Linked DNA regions of Homo sapiens: all the other regions are linked to region 1. The links are contacts of gene promoters, found by promoter capture Hi-C in blood cells and fetal thymus (Javierre and others, 2016). All regions are on one chromosome and are shown on one strand. Each heading gives the region's core, a stretch centred on a gene start or on the middle of the fragment in contact. The rest is flanking DNA. Distances are from core to core; before and after follow the strand shown. Region 1 holds the start of ANKRD44-AS1 (ANKRD44 antisense RNA 1). Region 2 overlaps SF3B1 (splicing factor 3b subunit 1). Region 3 overlaps SF3B1 (splicing factor 3b subunit 1).

The links. Contacts are between HindIII fragments. The CHiCAGO score rates a contact against its expected background, and 5 or more counts as called.
Region 2: a contact is called between a fragment that was not itself captured here and the fragment with the promoter of ANKRD44-AS1 in region 1, in 4 of 17 cell types (total B cells, fetal thymus, naive CD4 T cells and 1 more). The highest score is 7.2, in total B cells.
Region 3: a fragment that was not itself captured here is called in contact with the fragment with the promoter of ANKRD44-AS1 in region 1 in 1 of 17 cell types (total B cells); the score reaches 5.2 in total B cells.

The regions. Positions count from the first base shown.
Region 1 is chr2:197,196,462-197,199,994 of GRCh38, reverse strand. ANKRD44-AS1 (ANKRD44 antisense RNA 1) reads right to left here and starts at 2,004. Exons shown (of 2, transcript NR_135584.1): 1 at 1,906-2,004; 2 at 722-1,077. All of the region lies in intron 1 of ANKRD44 (ankyrin repeat domain 44), which reads left to right. RefSeq lists an enhancer at 889-958. The HindIII fragment of the contact is 4,177 bases long and covers 807-3,533 here.
Region 2 is chr2:197,430,424-197,433,956 of GRCh38, reverse strand. All of the region lies in intron 1 of SF3B1 (splicing factor 3b subunit 1), which reads left to right. Among named protein-coding and RNA genes, the nearest start is that of SF3B1, 2.8 kb to the left of the region's middle. The HindIII fragment of the contact is 3,930 bases long and covers 1-3,533 here.
Region 3 is chr2:197,398,945-197,402,477 of GRCh38, reverse strand. It overlaps SF3B1 (splicing factor 3b subunit 1), which reads left to right. Exons shown (of 25, transcript NM_012433.4): 15 at 348-493; 16 at 590-736; 17 at 953-1,078; 18 at 1,542-1,763; 19 at 2,044-2,226; 20 at 2,312-2,423. Among named protein-coding and RNA genes, the nearest start is that of SF3B1, 34 kb to the left of the region's middle. The HindIII fragment of the contact is 1,594 bases long and covers 1,086-2,679 here.

The DNA.
Region 1 (3,533 bases), core at 755-3,254:
TTTTGGCTCTGGTAGCACTTCTCTGTGCAATGTGGATAAGCACTGATAGAGGCTTGTTTGTTGTGGTACAAACTAGAAACAACCCAAATGCCCATTCGAAGGGGAATAATTGAATATGTTATGGCATATCCATACAATGGAATAGTATTATATATAGTTATTAAGAGAAATGATTTAATCCTGTAGCTATCGACCTGGGGGATGTCCTCAGTACATCATTATTTTTGCAAATTGTAAGAGAGGGAAATAAGCCAGGCATGGTGGTATGCATCTGTAATCCAGACTACTTGGATTACAGATACTTGGGTGGGAGGATCGCTTGAACCCAAGAATTTGAGACCACCCTGGACAATATAGCAAGACCCCCATCTCAAAAAAAGTGTGTGTGTGGGAAATAGTAAAATCCCATTTTCTGATAATAAATAACGATAATCTCATATATCTGTATCTGTACCTACCAACAAGAACACGGGCTGTTCACATTTGTGGTAGGAAAGGTTATTAAGTTTTTTCTTTATCTGTTTTTGTATTGTTGCAACAGGAAACCTACTAAGATTAAAATCCAGCAAACATAAGACAAAGATAAAATGCACAGGGGTTTTGATGCATTAGGTGTTTCCCATAGTACTTCCTATTTTTCAAACTTCGTGTGATTAAAAAAGTAAGTTTTATCCCTGACTAAATTTCAGTGTGGAAATAAAGAAATAAAGATAGCATGTACTTGGCTTAGGTATACTTGTTTTGTTCTTTCAGCTCGTTACGTAAAGATACATTTTTTTTTCTTTCTCATGACATGAAGATAAGCTTTCTTCTTACCAAAACCTAAACTGTGAAGGCAGCACCCAAGCCAAAAGCCTCGAGGCTCTGGTTTCTGTGGTGGGATGGGGAGAGAAGTAGGTTGCACAGATGTAGGATGCCAGCTGACTTCAGAACTTCCGGTCTCAGAGCTAACCAGGCTCGGCAAGCCACAAGAGAGAAGGAGCTTGCATAGGTGGAAGAGCAAAGAAAGCCAGTGCTGCAGAACTTCCGGTGCTCCTCCGCCGATGTCGGGCTGGCGCTGCTCCCGAGCCCTGTGTCCTGTGGAAGAAGTTGGTGAGAATCGTTTTGAATGTAGGCAGCCACTCCTGAGGAGGCTAGCCCTTGCTACATTAAAGGTGGAGCTAGATTTACATTTTATTTTATTTTATTTTATTTTTTATTTTTCGAGATGGAGTCTTGCTGTCGCCCAGGCTGGAGTGCAGTAGCACGATTTCAGCTCACTGCAACCTCCACCTCCCGGGCTCAAGCGATTCACCTGCTTCAGCCTCCCGAGTAGCTGGGATTACAGGGGCACGCCACCATGCCTGGCTAATTTTTTGTATTTTTAGTAGAGACGGGGTTTCACCATGTTGGCCAGGCTGGTCTCAAACTCCTGGCCTCAGGTGATCCACCTGCCTCGGCCTCCCAAAGTGCTGGGATTACAGACGTGAGCCACCATGCCCGGTCAAATTTACCTTTTAGATTCACATATTACCACCAGAAGAATGCTTCCTCTGACAACTGAGCGGTACTCCATCCCCAGAGCCCTTTGTGCAGACTATTATTGCAGTTTCCTAACTTGTTATGACACTCCAGCCTTTTCCTCCAGGTCATCATACAATCCATTTTTAGAGTGATTGTTCTAAAGCACAAATCTTAGGTCACTCCCCTGCTCAAAAACCACCCACTGCTCCCCCAGTTCCACAGAAGAGAGCTCAAATTTCTTAGCTTGGTATTCAAGACCTTCCATGATAGGATCCCTGTCTACTACTCAGCTTACCTCACTTCTCCCCTCCTCCAGCCAAATGAAACTGTTCCCTGTGTATGTTCAGGCTCCCTAGCTTCTGCTCACAGCCTTCTGAATATGAAGAAGGGAAAGTCCCTTACCATTCCATCCGTCTCTACCTGTTTAAATCCTCCCCAGTCTTCAATATTCATTTCAGAGGCTGCGTCTTTCAGGAGGCCAGGTACAATTTCTCTCCCTTCTCCATGCACTTCTCCTGCGGCCTGTGCCTTACATTCTAGCTGTGCGTATTTGTATACTTCCTGTTACACCTTGGTAACCTCATCAAGGGAGAGACTGACTCTGACATTCCAGTGTCTGAATTTCTTTCTTTCTTTTTCTTTTTCTGTGTTTCTTTCTTTCTTTTTTTTTTTTTTTTTTTTTGAGACAGGATTTCACTCTGTCACCCAGGCTGGAGTGCAATGGTGTGAGCATGGCTCACTGCAGCCTCAATTTCCTGGGCTCAGTTGGTTCTCCCACCTCAGCCTCCCGAGTCGCTGGGACTACAGGTGTGCGCCACCGTGCCCAGCTAATTTTTGCATTTTTAGTGGAGATGTGGTTTCACCATGTGTCTAGGCTGGTCTGGAACTCCTGGATTCAAGTGATCCGCCTGCCTTGGTCTCCCAAAGTGTTGGGATTACAAGCATGAGCTACTGCGCCCGGCCTCCAGTGTCTGAATTTCTTATGCTCAGTAAATGTCTTATGCTTAATACATCTTTGTTGAATTGAATGTGGTTATCTGAAATGTACCAAATTAAGTTTTAGAAAACATATCTTTTATCCCCTGTTGGAGGGGGTAGTGTGTAAAGAAATAAAGGAGCTACGCACTGGGTTGGTGTCTGTGAAAGGAAATATGATATGACTTCTTTTTTTTTGCAGAATTTCCCATTTTCCCATTTTATATTATCGAATGTTTTCCAGTCTCTTAGGCTCCTCTCTCTTCCTGCTGCCTTATCCTTTCCCTTTGACATCTGTCACTGGATGTCCTTACCATGATTTTGGATGGGGAAATGAGAAGATGCTTCCTGAAAGACTACACTGAGGGGATTCTCTAATAGATTTTCATTCCATGTGACTTTTTCTGGCTGGGGAGGGAGTAGGGGACCTTCCAGTCATCTCAGGCAGAAACTAATTCAGGTCCTGATCAACCCACTGCCTTAAATTTTAGAATGGTTGCTATAACAATTTTAGAATGGTTGCTATAACAAGATGCCTTAGGAAAAAAAAAATTGACAATGGCCAGAACAGGAAGGTGACTCCGTTTTACACATGTCCCTAGTCCCTCACCTGTGGAGAGGTGGTGAGAGTTTAACTGCTTGCTGTCTTTCCAAGAATGCACGTGGAATTCAAAGAAAAGAACAGTAGAAGGGAAGGAGAGGGTTTAAAGGAAAATTGTCATGGGCTTTGGAAAGACCTGATTGTGTAAAAATTGCTTGCTGGTGTTTGGAAAGAACCCAGGTGCTAACAGATTTTAGACAAACCCAATCTGGAGTTGCCTAAATCATGAATGATTTAATGTGACTGAGTTAATCCATATATCTTGTATACAGTAGTTCCAGCCTCCTCAAATGTAGCAGGAGATTGCCACCTTTCTGAGAGTACCTTTCATTTCTACATGCTGATTTTGTTGTTGTTTTTAAAGGACACTTGAATTGCTTTATTTAGCTTCCAATTTGTGAGATTCTCAAAAATTAAAATTACTCATGACCACAAGAAGATACTTCTGTAGTTA
Region 2 (3,533 bases), core at 354-2,853, 230 kb before region 1:
AAAAGCAGCATGTTCTGGGAACCTGGGTAACGGAATGATTATGTTTAGGGTTGTTTCACTGAGGAGGTTACATGACCGTGTTTTAAAAGGATCAGTCAGTTTTAAATCGGGAAGGACATCTGAGCCTGAGAACATCTTGTAACAAGGTATTGAATCGTGAAAGGTGTGTTTGAGTAGTAGTCCACTGTAGCAGGAACAGAGGGTGCAAGTAGAGAAGAAATAAATGAATCTGGAAAGGTTGGATTAGGACCAGAATGTGAATGGCTTTGAATAGTTGGGTCACCCAGAGGACCTGAAGTCCAGCTTTCTGCTATTTATCAAACATGCTAATGAATTGTCAATGACTTTAATATTAGTATACCATTTTAGGTATTTAGGATTTAAATGCTCTCTTAGTATTCCTAGGCTTTATTATTTTGTCTTTAGACTATCTCAAATATAACCTTTTGCAAAGTAAGTAGAAAATATAAAGTTGTGCTGTTTTTGTTCATTCAGGATGTTATTCATTTGGGGATATTGATAGTATAGCTTTGATACTTATTTATTGGTAACTTCAGTATAAGATGCCCTCAGACAGGAAAATCAGAATTCTGATCAGTTTTCCTGAATTTTTTAGAAACCCAGCTAAAAACTTTGGTCTATTGCTATTCATTGGCCAAACTTGTTATTTTTGAGATTATTCTATCAATGTGAATTAAGTGATACCATAAGAAAATAGCAGAACATTCAATACTTGAGCACTGTCTGTGCCCATCCCTATGGGATATGTCAGGGGATGATAAATGTTTAGTAGAAATACACATAATACTGACATAGCTTGTTGCTTCCTTCCTAATGGAACTCTAGTTCTTCATGGTCCATCACTGTTTTCTCTTGTTAAGCCATTTTTGATAAACTGAAGCAGAATTAATGCTTTTTGGGGCAGTGCTGCTATAGTACTCAGTATAAATGTTATATTGCTTAGAATAGTCTGTTGTGTTAAGATTTTCTCTTCTCCTTAGCTCCAAGATTGAGATAAACTGATAACTATTTATTTATTTTGCTGTCATATTCCTTTCAAACATTTCTTTTTTTATTTTTTATTTTTTTTTGAGATAGGGTCTTTTTCTGTTGCCCAGGCAGAAGTGCAGTGGTGCAATCTCGGCTCACAGCAACCTCCGCCTTTTAGGTTCAAGCGATTGTCCTGCTTCAGCCTCCTGAGTACTAGTATCGCAGGCATGTGCCACCACACCCGACTAATTTTTGTATTTTTAGAGACAGGGTTTCGCCATGTTGGCCAGGCTGGTCTCAAACTCCTGACCACAAGTGATCCTCCCACCTTGGCCTCCCAAAGTGCTGGGATTACTGGCATGAGCCACCATGCCTGAACCCTTTCAAACATTTCTATTAGGATCAGGCCTCACATCCTCTTTAACCAATCTGATTATATTTTACCCTGGCCAATGTGGCTTATGCTTTCCAGGATTGAAATATAAAAAGAACTGGAATTACTCAAATCAGATAAAATCTTTTAGATCTTTCCACGTATTATGTCAGGTGTATGGTTATGAATATGCATAATCTTGCCATCCAGCAGTTCTTCAGATACTGCTGACTTTGGCATACAAACAGGGAACACACATTATTCTCTGTTTTGTAAGGGGAAAATGGTTTAACCAAAAATCCTACATATCAGCTTGTTTTGCCACTAATCCTTTGAATTAGATTTTTTGGGACATCACAAAGCTGAAAAAGTTTTTTCCCTAATTCTTTGCTTGATAAATGGCTGGAATAGTTATAGTTTTGTTATTGTGTATCTTGCTGATCTATATATTTTTTCCTGTGTTTATTTTTGAGACCGGGTCTTGCCCTGTTGCCCAGGTTGGAGTGCAGTGGCGTGATCATAGCTCACTTAACCTACAACTGCTGGGCTCAAGTGATCCTCCCATTTCAGCCTCCTGAGTAGCTACAACTACAGGCGTGTGCTACCATGCCTGGCTAATTTTTACAATTTTTTTTTAGAGATGGGGTCTCGCTATGTTACCCAGGCTGATCTCGAACTCCTGGGCTCAAGCAGTCCTGCCTTGGCCTCCCACCGTGCTAGGATTACAGGTGTGAGCCACGATGCCTGGCCTTGAAATTTTTTTTAATAGAATTAATCATTTAGGAATCAATTTATCAGTATTGTTTGTAGTGTTCAGTAAAATGATTTATATTATAGTTAGTTGTCCTATTGGAGTTTTGTTTAATGAAAAAGCTGAGGGTTGGGATTCAGAATATACTTCCTGTTTTTCTGTGATGTCTTTTAGAAGCCTTGTATTTTGGAAATAGTTGTTCACCGGTTATATCTGGCTGAAGGAGAGTAGATATCACTTAGGGACCAGACTGAAAGGTGTAGGTGAGACATTAACATCTGAGGGCAGTATCTGTGTAACATGTAATGAGCAGTGATTAGAACACTGAAAATAATTCAGACGAAAAATGAAAAATAAAAATCAAGGAGGAAGAAGTGCTACAAGTTGGGTTTAGCAGGATCTAAGGCTTAGAAAGAAGAAAAGGGCTGGGCATGGTGTCTCACACCTATAATCCCAGCACTTTGGGAGGCTGAGGTGGGCAGATCACCCAAGGTTAGGAGTTCCAGACCAGCCTGGCCAACGTGGTGAAACCCCCTCTCTACTAAAAGTACAAAAAAATTAACCGGGCATGGTGGCGTGAGCCTGTGATCCCAGCTCCTCGGGAGGCTGTTGCAGGAGAATCGCTTGAACCCAGGAGGCGAAGGTTGCAGTGAGCTGAGATCACGCCACGCCACTGCACTCCAGCCTGGGCGACTGAGTGAAACTCTGTCTCAAAAAAAAAAAAAAAAAAAAAAAAAAGAAGAAAAGGCACAGGAGGGGAAATCAGAGGGACAGAATTGGTGGGGAGCAGTTAAATAGTTTTATCAGATGTGACCTTCTGCTATCAGTGATATGAATTGTTTTTCTCAAGAGCTTGATATGTAGGTCTGAGTTTTAAAATACAGGAGGCCAGGGGTTGCTCACGCATGTAATCCCAGCATTTTGGGAAGTCAAGACAGGAGGATTGCTTGAGACTGCAAACATACAGAAAAGTAGAGAGCGGCTGGCGCTATACTCCAGCCTGGGCAACAGAGCAGGACTCTGTCTCAGAAAAACAAAACAACAGGCCGGGCACAGTGTGTGAAGACAGGTTTTAATAACACTAGGGTAGGCTGGGCACGGTGGCTTACGCCTGTAATCCCAGCACTTTGGGAGGCTGATGTGGATGGATCACCAGAGGTCAGGAGTTTGAGACCAGCTTGATCAACATGGTGAAACCCTATCTCTACTAAAAATAAAAAAATTAGCTGGGTTTGGTGGTGCGTGCCTGTAATCCCACCTGCTTGGGAGCCTCAGGCAGGAGAATCTCTTGAACCAGGAGGTGGAGGTTGCAGTGAGCCGAGATCGTGCCACTGCACTTCAGTTTGGGCAACAGAGTGAGACTTTGTCTCAAAACAAAATAACAAAAAAAACTACCGTGAGTAGTAAAATGAACCCCTC
Region 3 (3,533 bases), core at 633-3,132, 200 kb before region 1:
AAACCTTTGGGCTCAAGTGATCCTCCTGCTCAGCCTCCTTAGTAGTTGGGACTAGAGGTACACACACAGCCTGTCCATGTTTAATAGGACAGCTGTCCTAAAATTTGGGCTACTGATTTGGGGAGATAAATGGAAAGGCATAGCTCTACAAACTATAGATTTTATGATGGGTTTGTTATATTATCTGCTGACAGGCTATGGTTCATGTTTTGCTTTTACCTAATTTTGTTTAATGTGAACATATTCTGCAGTTTGGCTGAATAGTTGATATATTGAGAGAATCTGGATGATATTGTGTAACTTAGGTAATGTTGGGGCATAGTTAAAACCTGTGTTTGGTTTTGTAGGTCTTGTGGATGAGCAGCAGAAAGTTCGGACCATCAGTGCTTTGGCCATTGCTGCCTTGGCTGAAGCAGCAACTCCTTATGGTATCGAATCTTTTGATTCTGTGTTAAAGCCTTTATGGAAGGGTATCCGCCAACACAGAGGAAAGGTAAATCCACCAATTACCTTTTGATTTATCTTCATTAAAGTTAAGGCGACATAAATCTAAATTACTAAAGTACATATATTTTTTATTTAAAAATAGGGTTTGGCTGCTTTCTTGAAGGCTATTGGGTATCTTATTCCTCTTATGGATGCAGAATATGCCAACTACTATACTAGAGAAGTGATGTTAATCCTTATTCGAGAATTCCAGTCTCCTGATGAGGAAATGAAAAAAATTGTGCTGAAGGTAATTATTCCAGATTTGTTAATGTAAACTGGATATGTTTCATGGTTCTAACAGAATTTTAAAGTGTTTTTAAAAATCAACAAAAAAAACTGTATGTTACACGAATACTGTTTGATTTGTTTTTAAATTTTATTTTTTAAAATCACGTAATCAGCAATGAGTATTCTCTTCATTTCAGGTCAGTTGATTTATTATTACTATTTCTTAACCTTTTAGGTGGTAAAACAGTGTTGTGGGACAGATGGTGTAGAAGCAAACTACATTAAAACAGAGATTCTTCCTCCCTTTTTTAAACACTTCTGGCAGCACAGGATGGCTTTGGATAGAAGAAATTACCGACAGGTAAGCTTTTATTGTAAAAGAATATTCTCAAAAGTCCTTTCAACTCATTCTTTAGTCAACTTGAATGCATGTTGTATATTATTTTTTGCCTTGATTATCTCACAGTTTATATGTGCTTGATTATGAAAGGAGATGGATTTTAGTCAGCCAGTTAACTTCCATTTTGATTTTGGATTCGAGGATTAATACTTAACTGTGAATTGATGTTTTTGTCTGGTACATTCAGTGCTTTATCTGGCTAGATGAAACATGGACACAGTTTTACCTTGAATCATGTTAACTTATACTCATTTTTCGATGTTTGGTCACTTTTCTCTTCAACTTTAATAAGTAGCAATGAATCATTCTTACCATGTTTATTAGCTAAATAAGTAGTATATTTAGAGTATTTGGTTTTCATGATGTTGCTTTATTTCCTTGGAAAAGCAGTCTAAAAGGTTTTTTGTTTTTCTGTTCTTTTTAGTTAGTTGATACTACTGTGGAGTTGGCAAACAAAGTAGGTGCAGCAGAAATTATATCCAGGATTGTGGATGATCTGAAAGATGAAGCCGAACAGTACAGAAAAATGGTGATGGAGACAATTGAGAAAATTATGGGTAATTTGGGAGCAGCAGATATTGATCATAAACTTGAAGAACAACTGATTGATGGTATTCTTTATGCTTTCCAAGAACAGACTACAGAGGTAATGAAAACTATTATGGCACATTGCTACTAACTTTAATATTTGTAGAAAAGCATATTAGTTGTCAAGCAAATTTTTCTAGAATGCAATTGAATTTGAAGTAATTTTTAAAATGCTCAGGGGGTTACCAAACGATATTATTCTACCTCAAGTTTTAAGATTTGATGTAAAAAAACAGCAACAGATGTTTGGGTGGTTAGAAAAGGTTGACTCTTAGTGTATTTCAACTGTGCAGTCATAAACCAAATGAATATGTCTTTTTTTTAAATTTATTTTTTAGGACTCAGTAATGTTGAACGGCTTTGGCACAGTGGTTAATGCTCTTGGCAAACGAGTCAAACCATACTTGCCTCAGATCTGTGGTACAGTTTTGTGGCGTTTAAATAACAAATCTGCTAAAGTTAGGCAACAGGCAGCTGACTTGATTTCTCGAACTGCTGTTGTCATGAAGACTTGTCAAGAGGTAAACTTTTGCATCAAATTCTTACTTCTTCCCCAAATAGTTTAATGTAAATAGTAACATTTTAACATTATTTGTTTTATTATAGGAAAAATTGATGGGACACTTGGGTGTTGTATTGTATGAGTATTTGGGTGAAGAGTACCCTGAAGTATTGGGCAGCATTCTTGGAGCACTGAAGGCCATTGTAAATGTCATAGGTATGGAATTTGCTGGTTACATAAGACTTTTTCTTGTTTTAACTTTCTTTTTCTTTTTTTTTTCGTAAGTAAAATCTTATTTAGGAGTTGGGAGGTTTTTGTTAGCTTTTTAAAAGCACTTCAAGATTGTAGTTAAGTCGGGGGATGTCACAAAAGTCTTGTTTCCCAAAACCCATTTATATTTTACTTTAAAGAGAAAAAAAGGGTAAGTTTAGGACCTACATGAGAGGTGGGAGTAGTCACAGCTCAAAAAGCTTTGAAGTCATGGAATACAGGACCCTAGTAGAAATAGTGTGTCAGGTGAAATATATTCTGCCATGTTCTGCTGCGGGGTGAAAAGGCAATCCTAAAGTTTTAATTTAGTTTTAGAACAATATATATATATTTAAACCTTGAATTAGCGATTATGACAGGTTTTTTGCTTGTGATCAGTTTCAAGGAATATAATCAGAGAAAAGTGAACTGATCAAATTATTGTCTTTATTTACATACCCAAGTTTTAAATACTGTCCATTCAGTTTTCTAACCCGTAATACAGCTATATTACAAATGGTCTTGGATATGGAGAGCAAAGTTTTTATTCCATTAGGGCAGTATGAAGAAAACAAATGGTTTCTTATATTTAATCTTTTTTTTAAATTGATTATAACTGTTGCCAAATGTAACTCCTGCAGAGTTTAGAGGCTCTGATAACCTAGCAGAAGTCAAAATAGCTGACTGTGAGAGAGCCACTGTTTGTTTTTCCTCATTTTGTAAGAGGTATTTATGCGATACACATGTTTAAACTATTGTATTTGCATATAATCTCCAATGCAACCCTATCCTCTATACTTGAAGATAGCTACTTGCCAGAAATCATTTACATGGCCACTTGTAGGGCTCTGGTTTGCAGGGAGTTTTAAACCATATTGTTTGTCAGAGAGGCATGGGAAGAGCAATGGAGAGAGAATCAGAGCAAGTGATTCTAGTTAGAGCAAGAGCCCCTGCCAGCTGCCTCCTTTTTTCTCTCTTCGTAGGTGTAAATACCATCCAAGTATGCCCTGCATTGCAGGGAGACTGGAGATCTGTTTGTTTTGCAGTTAAAGGGTAAGGGGGCCCTTTCTGGAAATT